Regions from separate parts of the Homo sapiens genome. Here region 2 is linked to region 1. Evidence: promoter capture Hi-C in human tissues and cell types (Jung and others, 2019). All regions are on one chromosome and are shown on one strand. The core of a region is centred on a gene start or on the middle of the fragment in contact, and the rest is flanking DNA. Distances in the headings are between cores, read along the strand shown. Region 1 holds the start of CDKN2B (cyclin dependent kinase inhibitor 2B). Region 2 has its middle 19 kb from the start of MLLT3.

The links. The method cuts DNA at HindIII sites, captures the fragments that hold promoters and counts their contacts. A contact is called where the count stands out against the background at its distance.
Region 2: a fragment that was not itself captured here is called in contact with the fragment with the promoter of CDKN2B in region 1 in 1 of the 25 tissues and cell types used here (lymphoblastoid cells).

The regions. Positions count from the first base shown.
Region 1 is chr9:22,006,734-22,012,382 of GRCh38, forward strand. It overlaps CDKN2B (cyclin dependent kinase inhibitor 2B), which reads right to left and starts at 2,572. Exons shown (of 2, transcript NM_004936.4): 1 at 2,065-2,572. The coding sequence starts at 2,220. The region is part of intron 1 of CDKN2B-AS1 (CDKN2B and CDKN2A antisense cis and trans regulatory RNA 1); the gene reads left to right. It also overlaps the pseudogene UBA52P6. RefSeq lists silencers at 1,914-2,113, 4,237-4,531. The HindIII fragment of the contact is 12,658 bases long and covers 1-5,649 here.
Region 2 is chr9:20,638,371-20,643,913 of GRCh38, forward strand. No RefSeq gene overlaps it. Among named protein-coding and RNA genes, the nearest start is that of MLLT3, 19 kb to the left of the region's middle. The HindIII fragment of the contact is 3,449 bases long and covers 725-4,173 here.

The DNA of each region.
Region 1 (5,649 bases), core at 1,322-3,821:
AACAACTAAGTTTTTTTCTTTCTTTTTTTTTTAATTTATTTAGTTCTCATAGCAAATCCCGTGCGGAAGGCTTTTGTTTGTCATGTGTCTGAGCTCATAACTGGCTTGTAGTGTGATAATTTGAGCCAAAGTTGGAGATTAGAAGGGAAAAGTAAATTAAATCATGCAAAATCTTATAAAATTATAATAAATGATTTTTCCTTAACAGTTCATCATTTTAAATTTAGACTATAATATTTTTAATGTAATATAAAACTAACTATATTTGTATACTACAGGATTTTATAATAGCTAAGATTTAAAAATGTTAAACAGTAAATATTTTGCTATATAAAAAGAGCTTGGGCCAGGCCCAGTGGCTTATGCCTGTAATCCCAGCACTTTGGGAGGCCATAGCAGGCAGATCACCTGAGGTCAGGAGTTCGAGACCAGCCTGGCCAACATGGTGAAATCCCGTCTCTACTACAAAAAATAAAAAATTAGCTGGGCATGGTGGGGCGTGCCTGTAGTCCCAGCAACTCAGGAGGCTGAGGCAGGAGAATCGCTTGCATCCTGGAAGAGGTTGCAGTGAGCTGAGATTGTGCCACTGCACTCCAGCCTGTCCGACAGAGTGAGGCCTCATCTCAAAAAAAATAAAATAAATAAATAAATAAATAGAGCTTGGATGTTAGCAGTCAATCAGGATGATGCATAACTTAGAAAAAATGATGTTTTGCAGGAGTAATCCTGTAGCAGCCATTTGTGTACATGAACATTATGAAAACATTTGCTGTCATATTTAAAGTCAATTATAAGACAATTTTTGGTAACTAAATGTCTAAAATCGAGTTATTTGTTATGGGTTTATGCACTTTAAAATATACCATTTAATTGAAAGGCAGTATACTTCTCATGTTTTGTTGGCTTGTTTCATTAATATTAGAAATGTTCATTTCATCTCTTAAAAACCGTGATAAGTTATATCTACTAGTGATGTAAGGATATTTTACATAGAAAAAAAGGGGAAAATAGCTGCTGTTAGTATTTCAGAAAATGGTGAATTACATATATAACTTGTTTTTATAATTATTAATAAAATTTTAAGTTTTTAAGATGCACTTTACAATATTTTTGCTCCTTTAAAAATCCCTCATTTGTTATACCATTATTCTAAGAATTCAAAAGAAATGAACACTTCTTTAAAATCTATACTATTAACAAGATCCCTTAATATTAGCTTAGTTTTAGAGGGTGATAGTGAGGTGAGTACTGAATATGACCACTAGCCAACGGTAAAGTACAAAAGAGTTGTCCGAGATTGTAAAAGAAATAAAAAATATCAGTACTAATTAAAGCAGGATTCGTACTTAAACATTGAATAAGTGTATTTTAACAATGAAGATAAAGATGCATTATTTATGAAGATCCTTTGCCATTCAAAAAGGACCTAACAGTTGCTGCAGGAATATTTTTGTAATCTGGGCACTGAGTATGATAATTAAAGAATGAGAAACCTATAGAACTATATATTTTTTCTCTTATGCATCACTCATAAGACACTGCTAACATAAAAGGAACTAAGTACTGTGGTTGAGGAATCCCGTCTCATTCTCAATTAACCTCTATGAGAAAACAATACAACAGATTTCATATAGTAGCTTAGAAGTTTACATTGATTTTTTCCATGTACTATGATTTTGTAGAATTCCTTAAATCCAATCTAGAATGCGTAACTTATACTTTACTTATCTTTATCGTTGAAAGCAGACAGACAAGATAATCTTCTTCCCTAAATAAGCTTTCCTTTTCTCCTTTTCTCCCCAATTCAGTCTATTCCTTGCATCTCTGATCATGAGATGGCAGAACAAAAACCACTAAAAAAAGCTTAAACAGTGGGTTTTTCAATGTCTCTCTTTAGGATTTTTGCTGGGTAAAAGCCTGTTTTACGCGTGGAATGCACACCTCCGGCCAACGGAGACTCCTGTACAAATCTACATCGGCGATCTAGGTTCCAGCCCCGATCCGCCGAGGCCGCGCCCCGCGTTCGCGCGCCCCCTGCCGGCGAGGCCCTGGGGCCCCAGCTACCTGGATCGCGCGCCTCCCGAAACGGTTGACTCCGTTGGGATCCGCGCCGGCTTCCAGGAGCTGTCGCACCTTCTCCACTAGTCCCCGCGCCGCGGCGCTGGCCAGACCCTCATCGCTGCCGCCCCCACTGGGCATGCCCTTGTTCTCCTCGCGCATTCCGCAGCCCCCAGACGCGCAGCGGCCCGGATAATCCACCGTTGGCCGTAAACTTAACGACACTCTTCCCTTCTTTCCCACGCTGCTCCGGCGCACTCTCTCCTTCCTAGGAGACCTGGGCTCAGCTTCATTACCCTCCCGTCGTCCTTCTGCGGCTTGGGGCCCCGTGCAGTGGCCGAGCGGCCGGTCGTTAGCTCCGGGCTTTTCCTGGCGCTCAAGAACCAGCGGGCGCGCCTGGATTGCTTCTGGGAAAAAGCGCCTAGCGCGGACGCAGCCGAGCTCAAAGCCGCTCTGGCCGCAGGGTGCGGACGCGTCGCGGAGTCCTCACTGCCCCGCCTCGCTCTGGCAGAGTGGGGAGCCAGCCGGCAAAGAATTCCGTTTTCAGCTGGGCCAAGGGGCCGGCGTCTCCCCACCCCCTTAGGCTCCGCCCCCTGTCCGCTGTGATCGCCGGGAGGCCAGGCCCGGGCCGACGCGTCACGAGGGCGGGGAAGCCTGCCCAAAGATGCTAGGACGCATGCGCCAGAGACTGGGCCAGGGAGCCGCCAGGAATGCTGGCTGCACTGCTCGCTGGATGTCCAGTAAAGCCAAGGCTAATATTTTGGGAATGTTCACCACTGCCCTCAGCTCCTAATCCCCAGTAGGCGGAGCAGAGGATTTCTGTTCCTTCAGCCAGCCAGTTGGTTTCACTGTGGAGACGTTGGTGGCTCCCTTGTGACCGAGAGAAAGTCATTCAAAATAACTCCGTGTTTCTTAAGATGTCTGAAAGCGACAGCTCTGCACCTGTCATACAAGTTAAATTCATCCCCAGGCAGTACTTGGGCTTCACAAGTTTCATAACTTGTATCAAACTTAGCAATTTTCTCTTGGATGTGTCTTTCTGTTTGAATTAGTCAACCATAAAAATAGAGAAAAATCCCGAGAATCATGTTTTGCGTGTGCTTTTTAATTCTTTCCATTTTTGCATTATGGATACAACCCTTAAAAGAGAAAAAAACTAGTTCGAGATTGAGAGTGGCAACCTGGCACACATAAGACAAAAAAAAATTATACTTTAAGAATCTGAGATCCCAGTTTCATCATATTTGTACAGTAAATCTTTGTTTGCACTCTTACCTATTTAAACCCACTTTGTCAGGTATCTTATTTTTATTTATCATGAGTAATAAAGGAAATTTATGCAGTAATAATGAAACATCATAAGAGAGGGGTGTGGTGCTGGGCTTGTCATTAAACAGGCTGAACCTGTCATTAAATTCTCTTCTGAAGATTTAAATGCCAAGTGCTTTTTTTCCCCTTCCTAATCTTCCTAGGTGAGTTTGAATCAACATTTATTACTTAAAATATTTAAAACATTTCAGCGGATGCTACATTGGATAGGAAGAGAACCGCAAGTTATGGATTTGTTGCCTAAAAACTTTGGTGAGGAACTGCATAAGTGGACCTCTCCTAAAAGTGAACAATTTTTGTTTACAGAATCATTTTGGTTCGGAGTGCTGAGGAAGACAAAGTCTTAACAGGAGGGCAATTGCTTGTGTATTGCAAAATGAGAGTCTTCACATGTTTTTTTTAGGATACCTTAGCTCTGACTCCTCATCCCCCAAATCCCTGTAGAATTAAAAAAAGCTCTTTCTTTTAAAGGCAGTGGAAGTGCCACCACCATGGAAGTGCTGGTTAGGGCTGAAAATCTACTGACAGAGCCTCAACAGAGCTGAAATCCACCTGGACAGGGAAGGGAACCGGGTAGCATTAATAACAATTTCTTTTTCTTTCCCATCCAACCCCCATTTCCTAGTCTTCAGTTTCTTAATTTCTCTACCTTTTACTCTTATGCTCTTGTTTTGACCTTTGAGTTTCTCTGAAACTTATCAGAAAAGTTAGGACAAGATAGTCTGACCCAATTCTTGAGCCATTTTCTTAGGTAGTAAATATGTCAGAAAAATGAAAGCTGTTTGGAGTTGATAAGGAAATGGAAGATAATGTTTTTCTTTGAGGGGGACATAAAGAATGGTGATAGGGAAAGAACCAATGACTAAGTAAAATGACTGAGAATCTTGCACGAGGCAGATGTGTGAGCTTCGCGAAGCAAGTTGACTGAATGAAAAACAACTTTGGGTAGGGAAAACGTTGCCGGGGGCATTCGCGCTTACTAGCACCACGGACAGCGCTTTGCTTATACTCAGGCCTGGGTGGTCCTAACCAGCTCCAGACAGAATTCTAAAGCTTCACACTTGATCTTCCAAAGCCCCTTTTCTCCCGTCAAATAGAAAGGACATTATGGAAGCTCAATGAATTTCTTTGAAAAACCAACCTGCTCAACCTGGTTTTCAAATATGATTGGATTTTATCTAATATTCTCTGTATAAAGAATATTATATAGTCTATATTTAGAAGACGAGAAGAGAAATCAAACTTATTGTGTACTCTGTACGAAGTGCTTTACAGCTGTTGTTTCATTTAATACTCATAAAACTCCTCTGTGGCATGTGTCCATATTTCAATTTTACAGACAAGCCAAAAGGATCAGAGAATTTGAGTGACTTGTATACTAGCTAATCATTGTTGGAGGTGGGTATAACTTTTGCGACTTCAGAGTCTTTTTACCCTTTATACTACATAGTGTTTTTTTTAGCAGCTGTCATGGTAGGCTTAACTGGAAAAAAGTAATAAACTGGCTTATAATTATTTTTCAGTCTACACTGTGTTTTCCAGATGGCTCACCTCACAGCACACCCTTACCAGACTTCAAAGATGACATTTCACATGTAATACAATAGCACATTTGTCTTGGACAATAGAGTGAGATTATGAAACATTTTACCTCTCCTTGAAACCCAGCTGTCTCTAGGGTGAAACACAATCTGTTGTTAATGCTTTAAACACATTTAAAAGATGAAGTGGATGGGAACATAGTGGGCAGCTGAAACTTGGAATTGTCAGAGCCATGTCTTTTAATAAGGTGGAGAATTTATAATTGAGAAGAAAGAAAGAGAAAGTTAATGGTAAATTGGCATAGAATTTTGGAGGTCAGTAGAAGGGAATGAGTGGCATCCATTCCAATGTTGCACATAACTCAGATCACTAGTAATAATATTTTTATATTCTAGTTGGTGAAATTGTCTGTATATGACCTTGATATAGAAGTATGAACAGATCTGCCATCCTCTTTTTCTTCAGCGAGGCAGCCGAGCTGCAGACACAGAGATGCAGATCTTTGTGAAGACCCTCACGGGCAAGACCATCACCCTTGAGGTCGAGCCCAGTGACACCATTGAGAATGTCAGTGCGAAAATTCAAGACAAGGAGGGTATCCCCCCTGACAAGCAGCGTCTGATATTTGCCAGCAAACAGCTGGAGGATGGCCGCACTCTCTCAGACTACAACGTCCAGAAACAGCCCACCCCGCACCTGGTGCTGCACCTGCGAGGTGGC
Region 2 (5,543 bases), core at 1,199-3,698, 1.4 Mb before region 1:
TAAATATATGAAACAACATAAGTCAAAAAATGTTAAGGCTGGGTGCAGTGGCTAATGTCTATAATCTCAGCAGTTTGGGAGGCTGAGGTGGAAAGATTGCTTGAGGCCAGAAATTAGAGACCGCCCTGGGAAACACAGAGAAACCCCGTCTCTACAAGGAATTTTTTTTCTTTTAATTAGCTGGGCATGGTGGTGTGCACGTGTAGTCCCAGGTACTCGGGAAGCTGAAGTGGGAGGATTGCTTGAGTCCAGGAGTTTGAGGTTACAGTGGGCTATGATAGTGCCACTGCACTCCAGCCTGGGTAACTGAATGAGACCTTGTCTCTAAAACTAAAAAGCAATAAATAAATAATAAATAAATCAATAAATAAATAAAAAGAGAAAATAAAGATTTTAAACTATGTAAGCTAAAAATGTACTTAAGGATGAAGAAGAGATAGTTCACAGAATGAACAAATTCTTGACCTCAATACTGATCCAGTAAGGATCAGGGAGCATGCATTTTCCAAACTGTCTCCAACAATAGCAAATAATGGTCAATGGCTGGATATTCTAAACCAATGTAAAGTAATGTATAGAAAAGTCATAAGGACTGGCTTTTGGTCTCTGATTGCCTCACTAAATAGCACTTTATTTTGTTTTTTATTTTAAAAAGTAGAATGAGATTTGTTTTAATCCTTAGCATATATGTTTATTGGGCTTTCTGCAGGTTATTGACTTTTTTTTAGAGACAATCTCACTCTATCCCCCAGGCTGGAATGCAGTGCTGTGATCATGGCTCACTGCAGCCTTGAACTCCTGGGCTCAAGTGATCCTCCCACCTCAGCCTCCCAAATAGCTGCCACTGCAGGTGCATGCCACCACACTCAGCTAATTTTTTAAAAAGATTTTTGTAGAGATAGGGTCTTACTATGTTGCCCAGCCTGATAGGTTTTTATTTATTTATTTACTTATTTATTGTCATAGGGTCTCACTATGTCACCCAGGCTGATGTACAGTGACATAATCATGGCTCACTGCAGCGTCAACCTCCTGGGCTCAAGTGATCCTCCCAACTCAGCCTCCTGAGTAGCTGGGACTACAGCCATGCACCACCACACCTGACAAATTTTTGTATTTTTTGTAAAGACAGGGTTTTGCCACGTTGCCCAGGCTGGTCCCAAACTCCTGAGCTCAAGCGATCTACCTGTCCCAGCCTCCCAAAGTGCTGAGATTACAGGTGTGAGCCACAGCTCCCAGCTCCAGGCTGGCAGGTTATTGACTTAAAATTTCAATTTTTACATTCTTTCCTAATGTTTCATCACAGTTTATTTTCTAAAACTGATATTCTATATATGGTTTTATTTAGTTTAATACTTGTTCATTGAGAAATATTTCTTGAATGCCTATTTTTTTTTCCTTAGGCCCTAAGGAACCAATAATTAATAAAGACAGATGGACAAATCTGGCTGCTGTCTTTATGGAGTTTACAGTCTAGTGGAAAGCAAACAATTATAATGTTATATGTGTAAAGAACATGACAGAAACTCAGCTTGCCTACCCAATATTTATTCGCCACATCTTTCTTGTGAAGAGAATCCCAGCTTAGTTAGGGGTAAGCAACATGCCCAATTGTAGCAGATTGTATTTCCCCAAAATGGCCACAGTAATATTTTGTTTTTTGTTTTTTTTGTTTTTGAGATGGAATCTCAGTCTTGTCGCTCAGGCTGGGGTGCAGTGGCACGATCTCGGCTCACTGCAACCTCCGCCTCCCAGGTTCAAGCTATTCTCCCGCCTCAGCCTCCTGAAGTAGTTGGGATTACAGGCATGCGCCACTACATCTGGCTAATTTTTGTATTTTTTCAGTAGAGACGGGGTTTCACCATGTTGGCCAGGCTGGTCTCAAATTCCTGACCTCAAATGATCCACCTGCCTCGGCCTCCCAAAGAGCTGGGATTATAGGCGTGAGCCACTGGGCCCAGCCCACAGCAATATTTTGGTCCACTTGCTCTTCCATACCTCGCCACCCCCAGATCAAGTTGTAAAATCGACTTCTCTTCCCCTTTAACCAGGCAGACCTTTGTATTTTCCACAATGAATAGAATACAGCACAAGTGATAATGTGTGACTTCCAGGTCATAAAAGGCGATATGGTTTCTACCTCAGTCTCTCTTGGGACCCTCACCCTTGGGACTCAGCTATCGTGGTGTGGGAATCCAAGAACCCACATGAAAAGCTCATGTGTAGGTGTTCTAACCACAGTTCCAACTGTGTGAGTCTTCTTGGCCGGCAGCCAGCAACAATTGCCTCTAGGCTGATGCCAAGTGAAGCAGAGACAAGCTGTCTCTGCTAAGCTTTGCCCAAATGGCCTATTTGTGAGAAAAACACATTTTCATTCTAAGCCATTAACTTTTGAGTTGGTTTGTTTCACAGTAATAGAAACCTGGAAGATCTGCTTAAAAAATTGCTTTACCCAGCCTTCCTGGCAGATTGGTTAGGCATGTGACATAATTTTGACCAATGAGATAGAAAGAGAAGCCCATGGGTGAGGCTTCTGAGAAAGACTCAGCAGATACATGACTGTAAGATCTGGACCCTTTGTTCCTCCTTCTGCCTACGGCGCAGTGACAGCTAGAGCTCCAGCACCATTTTGTAAGAATGAGAACAAGAGCCACACTTTAAAGATTCCAGGACAGACATGTAGAAAAGGTGCTCAGCATTTTTAATCATTAGGGAAATGCAAGTGAAAACTGCAATGAGAAATCATTTCACACTTCTAAAAGGACAAACATTAAAAAGATTGACACACTAGATTTTGATGTGGATGTGGAACAAGTAGAATTTGCATACATTTCTAGTTGGAGTATAAAATAATACCAATCTTTGATAAACTGTTTAACAGTTTCTAATAAAGATAAAAATATACCTATTCTATGATCCATCTGGATTCAACTTCTAGGTGTTTATGAAACATAAAGACATATCTTCACAAAAAGACTTACGTAAGAATGTTCATAGTAGATTTATTTGTTATAGGCCAAAATAGGGAATAGTCCGTATGTCCACCAATATGAAAATTGGTAAAATGGATAAATTGTGCCACATATACTACATTGGAATACTGTTCAGTAATAAAATAAGAATGAACTACTCATATATGCAACAACATAAATGAATCTGAAAAACGTTATGTTGAGCAAAAGAAGCAAAATACATGAATATACATATACTATCTGATTCTACTTACATGGCATTCCAACACATGCGAAACCAATGAATTGTGGTAGAAATTAGAACAGTAACTGCATTTTAGAGGAATTGACCAAAAAGGCACAAAGGAATTATTTGGGGTGCTGGAAAAGTTCTACTTTGGAAACCAGTTGGGATATTGGTTACCCAGAGGTATACAGTCATCAGAATTCATCAGACTACTCACTAAGTTATGTATACTTTACTAGATGTATATTATAAAACATTAGTTCACTAAAAATAAATATGGTCATACTTTTCAATGGCTTATTTACTAGTGAGATCCACTGAAAGGAGCTATGACTTAAATATTATTGATTTGCTGTGATAGCTAACTTACAGCAGCAATGTTTAAACTAATACTAGGAATGAAAATATTTTGGTGACCAGGTCTCACCTACAAGTAAAATACTATCTCCAATTCGTTTACCCAAAACAAATATATTCTATGTTCTACATCAAAACATGTTCAACATGTTTTATTTCTCCTTTTCCCAAGCTAAGATAACCATAACAAGGTTATTTAGGCAAATCCCCATACCAGCAACTGACAGGGTTTCTTGATAAAGGTGATATCTCAGCTGAGATCTGGGTTACAGAAGGATTTATCAGCCAAAAAGGAAGAGAGAGAACAGAAGTAAAATGAAGCCCCAGGGACAAGGGAAAAATACACACACACACACACACACACACGCACACACACAGGAGAGAGAGAGAGAGAGAAAGAGAGGTGGAGAGACAAGCAGGCAGTCAGAAACAGAGAGATAAAGAAACTGAAAGATGGTCAGTGTCCATTGAAAAGGCTTAAACAACTATCTAAACAGGAGAAATAGTGCTTGATTGAGAAAGAACACAGAGAATCTTGAGAAGTATCTTCATCTGGATGGTGGTTAAATGGGTATGCACATATGTAAAACCCATTAAACTTTACATTTATATTAGCACACTTCACATATTTACTGTACATATGTTATACTTCAATTTCAAAAACAGAGAGGACTGAGTCCTAGACGACAGTTAAAAGGAGGTATGTGGAGAAAAGTGGCTAGAATGGAGATCTGTTTAGGTGGTAGATTTGATTAGGCCTGGTGACAGTTTGGATGAGAGAGGGAAGAATATAAGTATGAGACACCTTCACTTCTGAGTTGGGCAGCTGGTTGAATAATGGTGCAAATAACCTAGATAGGAAGGAGGAAAGTTTAGGGAATGCGGAATGGTCAGCTTTGGACATGTTAGGGTTCTGAATAACATCTAAATAGAAAAAGCATCTTTGTTAGTGTGGCTGGTAACACAGGAGCGCAGTTAAATATTTGTGGAATAAATAAATGCTCAGTAAACAGTTGAATAACTAGGTGTGAACATCAGGAGAGAAATCTGAAGTAATGAGACATATTTAGTAAACCTTAGTGTTAGAAAGTGCTGTTTTTCTATACAATAGAGCTTTAGCTGGGCACACGATTCCCCAAATATAGACTACATTTCCCAGCCTCTGTGCAGCTAATTGTGGCCATATGATTAGGTTCTCATTTGTGGGATTTATTAGAAATGATGTTTTCACTTTCTCAATTATGCCTTTTGTAGGAAAGAAGCATGTCGCTGCTTCCCATGGGGTTGAATGCAAATATGATAGTGAGGTCATTTTGACCACATGGATGAGGGTCGTACCCAGTGGCTGTCATACATTAAAAGGACCTCAGGTTCTCTAACCTACTGGGCCACCATATTATTCCTGGACAATATACACAAAATATTACATGAGAAATAACTCTTTATCTTATTTGAGTATTTTTTGTCTCTTGTTACCTCATTCTAGCCTTTATCCAAGCTAATCCAACTATTATTAAAACCAGGGGAGAATGTGACTAATGAGAAGTATCAGGAGAGTGTGGAATTGTGAAGGCTAGGGAAAAGGACAAGAAAAGAGTAGTCCACCGTGTTACAGGCTTTTCAAGGAGGAAAGGATTCATAAGGCATCACCTCAGGATGTTGAATTTTATTGTGTTTGGATCATTGTTACCTAATCACTTAACCACAGCACCGCACGAAGCAGCTCTATCTCACTAATTAGGCTAAGTCCAGTAAATTTCTTCTAATTTTTGTTTCTGATCTATTTTGGCTGGTGTGAATGTTAAGACTGAGTGTCAACTTGATTGGATTGAAGGATGCAAAGTATTGTTCCTGATGTGTCTCTGAGGGTGTTGCCAAAGGGGATTAACATTTGAGTCAGTGGACTGGGAGAGGCAGATCCACCCTCAAGCTGGTCGGGCACCACCTAATCAGCCGCCAAGCAGAAGTTGTAAACAGCAGACTTGCTG